Linked DNA regions of Homo sapiens: region 2 is linked to region 1. Evidence: promoter capture Hi-C in 16 types of primary human blood cells and fetal thymus (Javierre and others, 2016). All regions are on one chromosome and are shown on one strand. The core of a region is centred on a gene start or on the middle of the fragment in contact, and the rest is flanking DNA. Distances in the headings are between cores, read along the strand shown. Region 1 holds the start of MLKL (mixed lineage kinase domain like pseudokinase). Region 2 overlaps PDPR (pyruvate dehydrogenase phosphatase regulatory subunit).

Region 1 (4,559 bases), core at 530-3,029:
AACCTGGGCAACAGAGCAAAACTCCGTCTCAAAAACAAAAACAAAAACAAAAAAAAAGAAAGAAAGAAAATTGCACAAAACAAAGCTTGAAGAAAGGAGGAAAGAGAAGTGTTATATTTCTGGCTGGGAAGACTAAAACAGACCAACCCAGCAATCCTTCCCAAATTTAAATCCAATTTAATGCAGTTCCAATAAAACATCTACTGACATATTTTGGCATTAAATCAAAATGATCCTAAAGTTCATTTGAAATGGGAAATTAGTAGGGATAACCAGGATTTTAAAAAATAAAGAAAAGGGGACTTGCCTGTATGAAATTAAAATATATTAAAAACTGCAAAATATTGGGAAAAAGCACCCTACAATAACTTAAATTGTTTAAGGTCTTATTAAGTATATGATCTACAAGGGAAGAAAGGGAATATACATATATACACACTTAGACTGGGCAATTTGAATTTCTAGGAACTTATGATGTAGAAAAGCTTGTGTTTGTAGATAGATGGCTACCGAGATGTTCACTGCAGTGCTATTTATAATATGTAAAACAAACAGCTAAGAATATGTTCAGGCCAGCTGCAGTGGCTCACACCTGTAATCCCAGCACTTTGGGAGGGTGAGGTAGGAGGATCACCTGAGCCCAGGAGTTTGAGACCAGCCTGGGTGACAAAGCGAGACCCTGGCTCTACCAAAAAATACAAAAAAAATTTAATTGGGTGTGGTGATGTGCACCTTGTAGTCCTAGCTACTTGGGAGGATCTGGTTGGAGGATCACTTGAGCCCATGAGTTCGGAGGCTGCAGTGAGCTATGATTGTGCCACTGCGCTCCAGCCTGGGCAACAGAGGAAGACTCCATCTCTCAAAATAAATAAATAAAAAGAAAAAGGGGATTATGTTCATATGTTACGATGAGAAAACAGGTTACTAATTTTAAAAGTGAAAAATCTTTAAATGGTAATAACAATGCAAATTCACCTCTTCCCTCCAAAAAATAAAAAATAAAAATAAAATAAAATAAGTAAAGGTTATCAGGCATTTCCCTCTTCTCTCTCTCTCACTCTGTCTCTCTCTCACGCCTTCAGCCTGCAAACCTGAAGACTTCCTTTTTCTGAGAAGACATCAGGTAACTTGTTCCCGTGCCCCTGCCCTCCACGACCCCCACTGCTACTGGGCGTCTCGCTTTGGCGGAAGGTAGTGCGAGATCCGAGCAGGCAGCTCCACCATCAGAGCTGAGGAAATGAAACCAACTCGGTCCTGAGTTCCAGGAACTCGGACCGGGCCACCCTCACCCCTGGTTCTTCCCATCACCGTCCAGGAATTCGGCTGCAGCCCCTCGGCCCCGCCGCCTCCTGGGAAGACCCCATGCTCACCTTCGCGCCTCCCGAGGGGTGTGCGTCCAATCTGTCCCGTGCACAGTTCCAAAAAGCTCGCTCTTCCACCTTCTTTCCCACGACCGCCTCCTGCCCAGGCGAGAAGTTTGCAAACGCGAGGCCCGCGGGAGTTCCCCTGCGCCCCCTTTCCTGGTGCCCGCACCCTGCACTCTGCTGACTGTACCGGACGCCACACGTGGCTGGCGGCGACAAGGCGCCCCGATCCCTACCTGAGGGAAACCCCGGCCACTGCAGCTGCACTTGAGCAGGGTCCCTCCACTCAGCCACTTGGATGGCTGTTTCTGTCCAGTGCCCTCCGGAGGCCACTGCCTCAGGTCTGTGATGCCTGCAGAGAATGCTGCGACACTTCCCCCTCCGACGTGGCTCCAGCTGCCAACCACCAGGCTCACGGTGCCCTGGCTCCCTGGAGCCGCTTTCTAGGCAGCTCGGAGCCACGGCCCCTCCCTTCCTTCCTCCTGTCCTTTCCACACTCTTCCTGCCTTCCCCAAAGTCACTGGGTAACTACGCTGTACACGTCAGTACCAAGCCTTCTTTAGGGGCTGGGGATTCAGAATAGAATAAGGTCCCAGCAACTATTATAACCAGGACACAGTATGAGAAGGACTGGAAGTTTAGAGAAAAACTGAAAGTTGGAGAGAAGCTTCTGGTGTTTGCTTCTCTGTGCTGGATAATATTGGCGGGGTGGGGAGGGTACGAGGGAAGAGACACCAAAGTGGGAAAAAAGTCACTTCCTCTTCTAAGGTCATTGCAGAACATCCTGTTACAGTGTGAGTCAGGTTTTCTTAAGATTAACTACATCTTCAGCTAGAAAGTCTAAGTAGTGTTATGCATTTACTCAACAGACTATTTGCCTCTAAAAGAACAGAACTGGGAGCTGGGTGTGGTGGCTCATGCCTGTAATTCCAGCACTTTGGGAGGCGGAGGTGGCCAGATCACCTGAGGTCAGGAGTTCAAGACCATCCTGGCCAACATGGGGAAACCCTGTCTCTACTAAAAATACAAAAATTAGCCAGGCGTGGTGGTGCATGCCTGTAATCCCAGCTACTCGGGAGCCTGAGAGGGGAGAATCGCTTGAAGCCGGCCTTGGAGATTCATTTCTTCGCCTTGCTATTGTTCTTCGTCTCCTGCATCATCAGTTTTCTTCCTGTCTTAGGTGAAGAGATTGAGGTGAGGCAGGAGAATAGGGTCTGCAGGCAGGGAACATAAAGCTGATTCACGCTGACTTCTTAGAACTAAATAAAATGGACACATTTCAGCTATGACAGGAAATATTTTCTTCATTTACATATGGCGTTCACTGAGTAAGTGACTGAGCAACTTCACTTCATCTTCTTCATTTACATAGGGTGTACACCAATTAACCAATGGGAGCCTCTAGAGGGTATTTAAATCCCAGAAAATTCTGTAACGGAGTTCTTGAGCCCCTATGCTCACGCTGGCTCCCACCCTGTGGAGTGTACCTTTGTTTTCAATACATCTCTGCTTTTGTTGCCTCATTCTTTCCTTGCTTTGTGCATTTTGCCCATTTCTTTGTTCAAGATGCCAAGAACCTGGACACCTTCAACAAGTAACACAGGTGCCTGTGATTTATTGAAGGAAGACTCTTAGGAGAGTGGTGGGTATGATAGGGCAGAGGAAGAAAAAGTGAAACAAGTATGTAGTCAGTGGAGGCTCCATGGGGAGGTCTGGAATGTGAAGGTCTGGAACAAGAGGCAGCCTCCTTTCTGCCCAGGGCAATTCTTCTGGACGAGGGGGAAGCTGTGTGAGTGTTTAGCTGTCAACACTCATAGCAGCTGCAGGATGGGTATACTGATCTGCTATAAACAAAATCATACAATGTATAACCTTTTGGAAGTTTTTTTCTTTTCTTTTCTTTTTTTTTTTTTTTACTGTCCCACCATCAATGTACAAGACATTCAGTTTCTCTGCATCCTCAGCAGCATTTTATTTTGTCCCTGCCTGAATTTTTAGCTATTCTAACAGGTGAATAGTGATATATCATCATGGTTTTTTGTTTTGTTTTGTTTTGAGATAGAGTCTTACTCTGTTGCCCAGGCTGGAGTGCAGTGGCGCCATCTCAGCTCACTGCAACCTCCACCTCCTGGGTTCAAGCGATTCTCCAGCCTCAGCCTCCCAAGTAGCTGGGACTACAGGCGTGCACCACCACACCTGTCTATTTTTTGTATTTTTAGTAGAGACAGCGTTTCGCCATATTGGCCAGACTGGTCTCGAACTCCTGACCTCAGGTGATCCACCCACCTTGGCCTCCCAAAGTGCTGGGATTATAGGCATGAGCCACTGCGCCTGGTCTCATCATGGTTTTAATTGGCATTTCTTTAGTGCCTGGTGATGATGGACATGTTTTCATGTGCTTGTTTGCCATCTGTATAGCCTCATTGGTGAAATGTCTGTCCATGTCTTTTGCCCATTTTTAGTTGAATTCTTTTTAAAAAACTTGAGTTTTGAGAGTTTAAATATTCTAGATATTAATCCTTTGCCAGATAGGTGGTGTTCAAATGGTGGTGGAGTAACTGAACAAAAAAATGAACTTCACCTAAACCTCATATTCTATGCAAAAATTGCCTGAATGGATCAGAGATTTAAATGTAAAATGTAAAACAAGGAACCTTTTAGAAGAAAGCAGAGAGAACTGTGCAGAATGAAAGGACATTTCCTGTTGAGAAAATGTAAATGTTTGAAAAAAGTTTAGGGCCGGTCGCAGTGGCTCACGCCTGTAATCCCAGCACTTTGGGAGGCCGAGGTGGGCGGATCACGAGGTCAGGAGATTAAGACCATCCTGGCTAACACGGTGAAACCCCATCTCTACTAAAAATACAAAAAAAAATTAGCCGGATGTGGTGGCGGGTGCCTGTAGTCCCAGCTACTCGGGAGGCTGAGGCAGGAGAACGATGTGAACCCAGGAGGCGGAGCTTGCAGTGAGCCGAGATCGCGCCATTGCACACCAGCCTGGGTGGCAGAGTGAGACTCCGTCTCAAAAAAAAAAAAAAAAAAAAAGAAAAGAAAAAAGTTTAAATGAGCCCTTTAAAATGTTTTTATTTTTAGTAGAGACAGAGGTCTCCCTGTGTTGCTGAGGCTGATCTTGAACTTCTGAACTCAAGCAATCCTCATGCCTTGGCCCCCCAAAGTGTTGGGATTACGAGCTTGAGC
Region 2 (5,188 bases), core at 1,377-3,876, 4.5 Mb before region 1:
ACACGTAGCATTTGCACCCCTCCAAAGCCATCTTTGTAAAGGAAAACGTATTTGTAATTGAATCCAGAAGAATTTAGTTACACATAGACATAACTCTTCAACCTTAACTATGGCAATACATTTGTGCTTTAACTGTTACATAGCAGTATCACCACTTACCAGGATCCAAATCGAAATAATAAAAGCTGTCTCCATAGTTTAAAATCGAATAGTGCCATCATCACAGTATATTAGTCAAATAGAAGCTTCATCAGAAATGTATCCCACATAGAGTTTTAAGACTTGGATTCTCTTCTGCCCTTGTTAATCTCCAACTAATTACTACAGATTGACACGTTTTTAATTAGCTGTCCTTTGTAAGAAGTCAGGAAATCTGATGCTGTGTCCAAAATTATGCACTGTTTGTTGAAGTAGAACCAGAAATCCTGACCTCCTGTTAAATGACATCAGTTTCCCCCTCTGAGCAACAGACTGCTTGTCTTGCTAGGAGAGGAGGATGGGGGGCTGAGCACTCAGGCTGTCCATTGAAACCCCTTGTCCATGAATAGGGTCATACTCCTAAGACTGATGGGGTGTTGATCTTCTAGGACATCACTTGTTTATTCAGTGCCCCAAACACAGATTTCTCTTCTAGCACTTTAGAGTTGATCCTTGAAGTCTCTCCTGGTTCATTCAAATACAAGCTGTGTGAGTCTGGTGGTTTTCTGTGATTGGTCTAATGTGAGCTCTTTGAACAGACAGATCTGACAGTGAATGACTCTCCCCTGCTTCTGGCATAACTGCTTTGCCTCTGTCTAGTGTCCAAGCATCTTAGCTGTTCAAGAGGAGAGGGCAGCATAACTTCCTGACCACCGGTGTCAGATATCAGAGCATTCTGGACTCCTGAGAGGCAGTGGCCTCTTGAGTGAACAGGGGAGGCCAGTAGATGCCCCAGATCCAGAGCCGTGGCTGCAAATCCAGCAGGAATAAGGAGGGACAACCACAGCCTCCTCATCCATGTGTCATTTCCAAGGGTTTGCCTTGTGTCTCAGCTCATTCTGGGCAGCACGTTTGTCTTCTGTCCCTAGAGATTTGAAGGATTTTGGACTCTTGTGAATGGGTGACTGGACTTGGCTTTACAGAGTTGGGTGCTTTTTTCTCTCTGCAATTACCTGTCATAGCATTTTGTGCTCACCACGAAGGATGGTCTCTGCCTTCTCTTGTCGGTGTATGCCATCTGAACCTAGGAACACAAAGTATATTGGCCTCAAACGGAGACCCAGGGTTGCCAGTTTTCCGTGGGCCTTCCCCTCCCTTGAAATGTCTTTAATTACCTCCCCTTCATCGTCAGGCCACGTGTGACTTCTGTTCTTAGCACTGCCAGGGTCATTGACTTCCATCTAAGCTTGCATCAGGAAGATGTTCCTTCTGTGATCATTGGTACTGAAGCCAGAAAAGCTCTCATTCAGGAACTCTGAAGAGCAAAAAGGGACAAACACTAACTGCTGAGCTGGGCCATTTGATCTCCTTTCACCTTGCATTGCTGTCACAGCACCTTGTATGATGGCAGGACAGGCTCCAGCAGAGAGAACTGCACAGTGACCACTGTATTTTTCACGCTCTTCCAGGGATCCCTGTCCCCCGACATTGAAGAGATCTCATTCAGGCCAGAGACACAGAGACCACATAGCCCAGTGATTAAACCCCGGTTTCACTCTGGCCCCAGGAGTGGAGCCTGGCCACTCCTGTTTGGTTCTCACTGGGAGGCCCACTGGCCTTGGATCATCTCCTCATGCACACCCGGAGTTTTACCTGCTTGCTTGCTTTCCTGGACTGCTGTTTGCAAGAAAGTAACTAAAACATGAAAAGTAAACCTCCAGCTTCCACAGTATATTACCTGCCGTTGCATGCATTTGAAAGTTAGCCTCCTCCCTTGCCACCGTCTTGGTGGCAGTAGCGATGCAAGAATGATGGGAGCTTTCCGAGAGCGTTCAGTGTTTCACTGAAGACAGGACCCATAGCCTTCATTTCTGGCTCTGTGTCTCCTCTGGCATATGGACACATTTCCTGGCATTTGCCTGAGTCTACACCACTTTTTGAGAACCTGAAATAGAAGGGAATCTTCTGTGGCCCACAGTCTCCATATTGGCACTAGAAGACTGGCCTGGCGGAGGAATTTGCGTTGGCTTGCTTTCAGGGGTTAGCTACAAGATTCAGCTTTATATCTCTGTTGCTTCTTGGCCAGTGTAGTCAATAAGGGTCTTCTTTAACATCTAAGATAGAGGTTTGGTTGGCCGGGCGTGGTCGCTTACTCCTGTAATCCCAGCACTTTGGGAGGCCCAGTGAGGTGGGAGAATTGCTTGAACCCAGGAGGCAGAGGTTGCAGTGAGCTGAGATTGCACCACTGCACTCCAGCCTGGGTAACAGAGTGAGACTCTTGTCTCAAAAAAAAAAAAAAAAAAATCTAAGATAGAGGTTTGGTCAACAGTGCTTAATAATAAATAAGAACCTCCTGCCATTCTAATTTTCCTGCTGCACCCCATCCCCCACACACCCCTCACGAACATTGATATAAGCAGTATTAACACAGTATAAAGAATGTTCACCTTGCATATGTCATTTCAGGCACATGGATTCAGGAGAAGCACAGTTGAGTGGAAGAAATGGTAGACTTGTGAGGCTTGCCCCAGGCCTTGTGTACACGCAATAAGTGGTGAGCCATGGGTCTCTCCGTCAGCGCCTCCCTCCCCGCCACCACTTCAGGCCAACAATTTAAGGTGCTGAGTTGTAAGGCTCCTCCATTGTCAGTACAGGGCTCGCCTTTGTAGCCCTGATCACTACCAGTACACTTTTCAAGACAACTGAGTATTTTTGTATGCCTTTGCCTTCCCTTTGTCCATGAAACATGAAGAGTTGTTTATGGTTCTTGACTTCTCTGAGCAGAGTGTCTGCATCTCTTGGAGAGTTACACATTTCTTCATGAGCCATTTTTCTCATTCTTAGATGCACCTGTTTTTATCCTTTGCAGACCATCTTCTGCCTTCTTATTTTCCTGTCTGTCAAAGACAGAAATTACAGGAGATAGGGAGGGTTTTTTAGCATCTCTTTCAAAAGATGTATGTCAGAATTTCCTTTGCACACCAAGAACTGGAGCTTAGAGCCCCACTATTCTCTAAGCCAGGTTCTAGTGCCTTACACTCCAGAATGTCAGATGGTGGGTGCAGATTGGAAGAAAGAGAAAAGTTCATCTCGGTGTGTGGGTTCCCATCCGCCCCACATAGCCTCTCCTTCTTCGGAACAATGGGCGTGGGGTAGAAAGCTCTTTCAGTGAAGGGTGTTCTAGCAGCTCAGTTAACACTTTACTCTCCAGTCAACACTTGGGACATATAAAAATGCCATTGTAACTACTGTAGAGTCCTGTGACTCATCGTTTGTGTTTGTCAATTTGCAGTTCAGCTTAGCCCTTCCCTGTTCCTGTGTAGTTACAATCTGGCCCTGAAGACATCCGAGGCACTTCAGTAAGTGGGATCTTTTCTAGAGATCCTGGGTGACTTTGGGTGCACAGGGTGACCGAGCATTTCTGCCCCTGTGAATGTGGCACTAACACTGTGCACTGTCTCCACCAAGCAAGGTTTCCACTGAGTTTCTTCTCATGTTACTGGGTTTGTAAATGAATAAACACATTTTAACTACTCTTGCACGGCTGCTTGTGAAATGTTCTTCATCTGTAGTGACTTAAATGTGTTTGCCACCACAAAGCATAAACAGCGTGCAGAGGAGAGTGTGTACCTCCCTGTGTGTACCAGTGTGAGGGAGGATTTGGGGACGGGGGTAGAGAAGATGTAGGTGTTTATCTTACCCTCCCTGCAGCGCTGGAGTGGCTGGGGGTAAAAGCTTCCCGCCTCCTGAAATTCCGACCGGCCTTCTGCCTACAGCTGACCTCAGGAGGAACCTGCCACCTGATGTTCCACACGGGCACGTGTGCACTCAGGTTTGTGTGGAAAGCAAGGGGGGTCGTGTTCTCACCCTGTGGAAACAACCCTGAGAGAAACAACCAGTGCTCTTTTTCTACACCAGCTTCCATCCACAAGTTGGTCCCTGGACTTGACCTGTTCACTAATTTTTTTTTTTGAGGCAGAGTCTTGCTCTTTTGCCCAGGCTGGAGTACAGTGGTGTGATCTTGGCTTACTGCAACCTCCACTCCCAGGTTCAAGTGATTTCCTGCCTTAGCCTCCAGAGTAGCTGGGATTACAGGCACGCGCCACCATGCCCAGCTAATTTTTGTATTTTCGTAGAGACGGGGTTTCGCCAGGTTGGCCAGGCTGGTCTCAAACCCCCAACCTCAAGTGATCCACCCACCTTGGCCTCCCAAAGTGCTGGGATTACAGGCGTGAGCCACTGTGCCTGGCCCAAAGTAATTTTTGAGTAGTTTTTTTTTTTTTAAGTATTTGTACTTTTGAGAATCTCATAGGTTAACATGTTTACAACAATCTCTTCATCTTGTCTTCTAAATCAGCCCCTTCTATTCCAGTTCCAGGAATAGTCAACCACGCCAGAAACCTGGGACTCACCTGGTCTCCCCACTCGCCTCTCCCTACACCTCCCGCTCATTACCCAGCCTCACAGGGCTGTCTCCTCAGTGCCTCTCCTCTGTTCGGACCTCACTGTCCCCACCACTGCTGCTGTGGCAGAGAGGGTTGTCAGCCCTGACTTCGAGAACAATCTCTTACTGATTTTCCTGCTTCTCATGTCATCCCCCCTCCCTCTGCAGGGTTGTCTTTGTAAAACAGGGGAGGTCAATTTACTCACTGCCTTGAAACCCTCAAGGGACTCCCCTTTGTCGTGAGACAAAGCTCTCAGTCCTTAGCCTGGCCAGCCAGGGTCTCCAGGGTGTGGCAGGCCACGCTGCCCCAGGGCTCCGGCCTGCGCTGCGTGTGATGTGGGTCCTGCAGCCGAGTGCGTGCTCGCCATCCACAGCTGGATCTCACCTCGAATCCTGCTTTCCAGTCACACTGAGAGGTCTCCCACTCCCATATTTGCTCACTAAAATGCCTCCTGGCAGCCCTCCCCTGTGCTTGTGGAAAGTCGCAAATTGAGGATCACATGGACCCCCACTCCCCCAAGTTGTCCTGACAGAGACCTCCTGTCTTTCATTTGATTGATTGATTGAGACGGAGTTTTGTTCTTCTTGCTTAGGCTGCTGGAGTGC

Evidence for each region. The method cuts DNA at HindIII sites, captures the fragments that hold promoters and counts their contacts. A CHiCAGO score of 5 or more calls a contact.
Region 2: a contact is called between a fragment that was not itself captured here and the fragment with the promoter of MLKL in region 1, in 2 of 17 cell types (total CD4 T cells and naive CD8 T cells). The highest score is 8.1, in total CD4 T cells.

Annotation. Positions count from the first base shown.
Region 1 is chr16:74,699,083-74,703,641 of GRCh38, forward strand. It overlaps MLKL (mixed lineage kinase domain like pseudokinase), which reads right to left and starts at 1,780. Exons shown (of 11, transcript NM_152649.4): 1 at 1,371-1,780. RefSeq lists an enhancer at 1,234-1,683. The HindIII fragment of the contact is 1,546 bases long and covers 484-2,029 here.
Region 2 is chr16:70,158,859-70,164,046 of GRCh38, forward strand. PDPR (pyruvate dehydrogenase phosphatase regulatory subunit) reads left to right here. Exons shown (of 19, transcript NM_017990.5): 19 at 1-3,679. It overlaps LOC400541 (a long non-coding RNA gene), which reads right to left. Exons shown (of 3, transcript NR_126007.1): 2 at 1-31. Among named protein-coding and RNA genes, the nearest start is that of CLEC18C, 12 kb to the right of the region's middle. The HindIII fragment of the contact is 2,489 bases long and covers 1,383-3,871 here.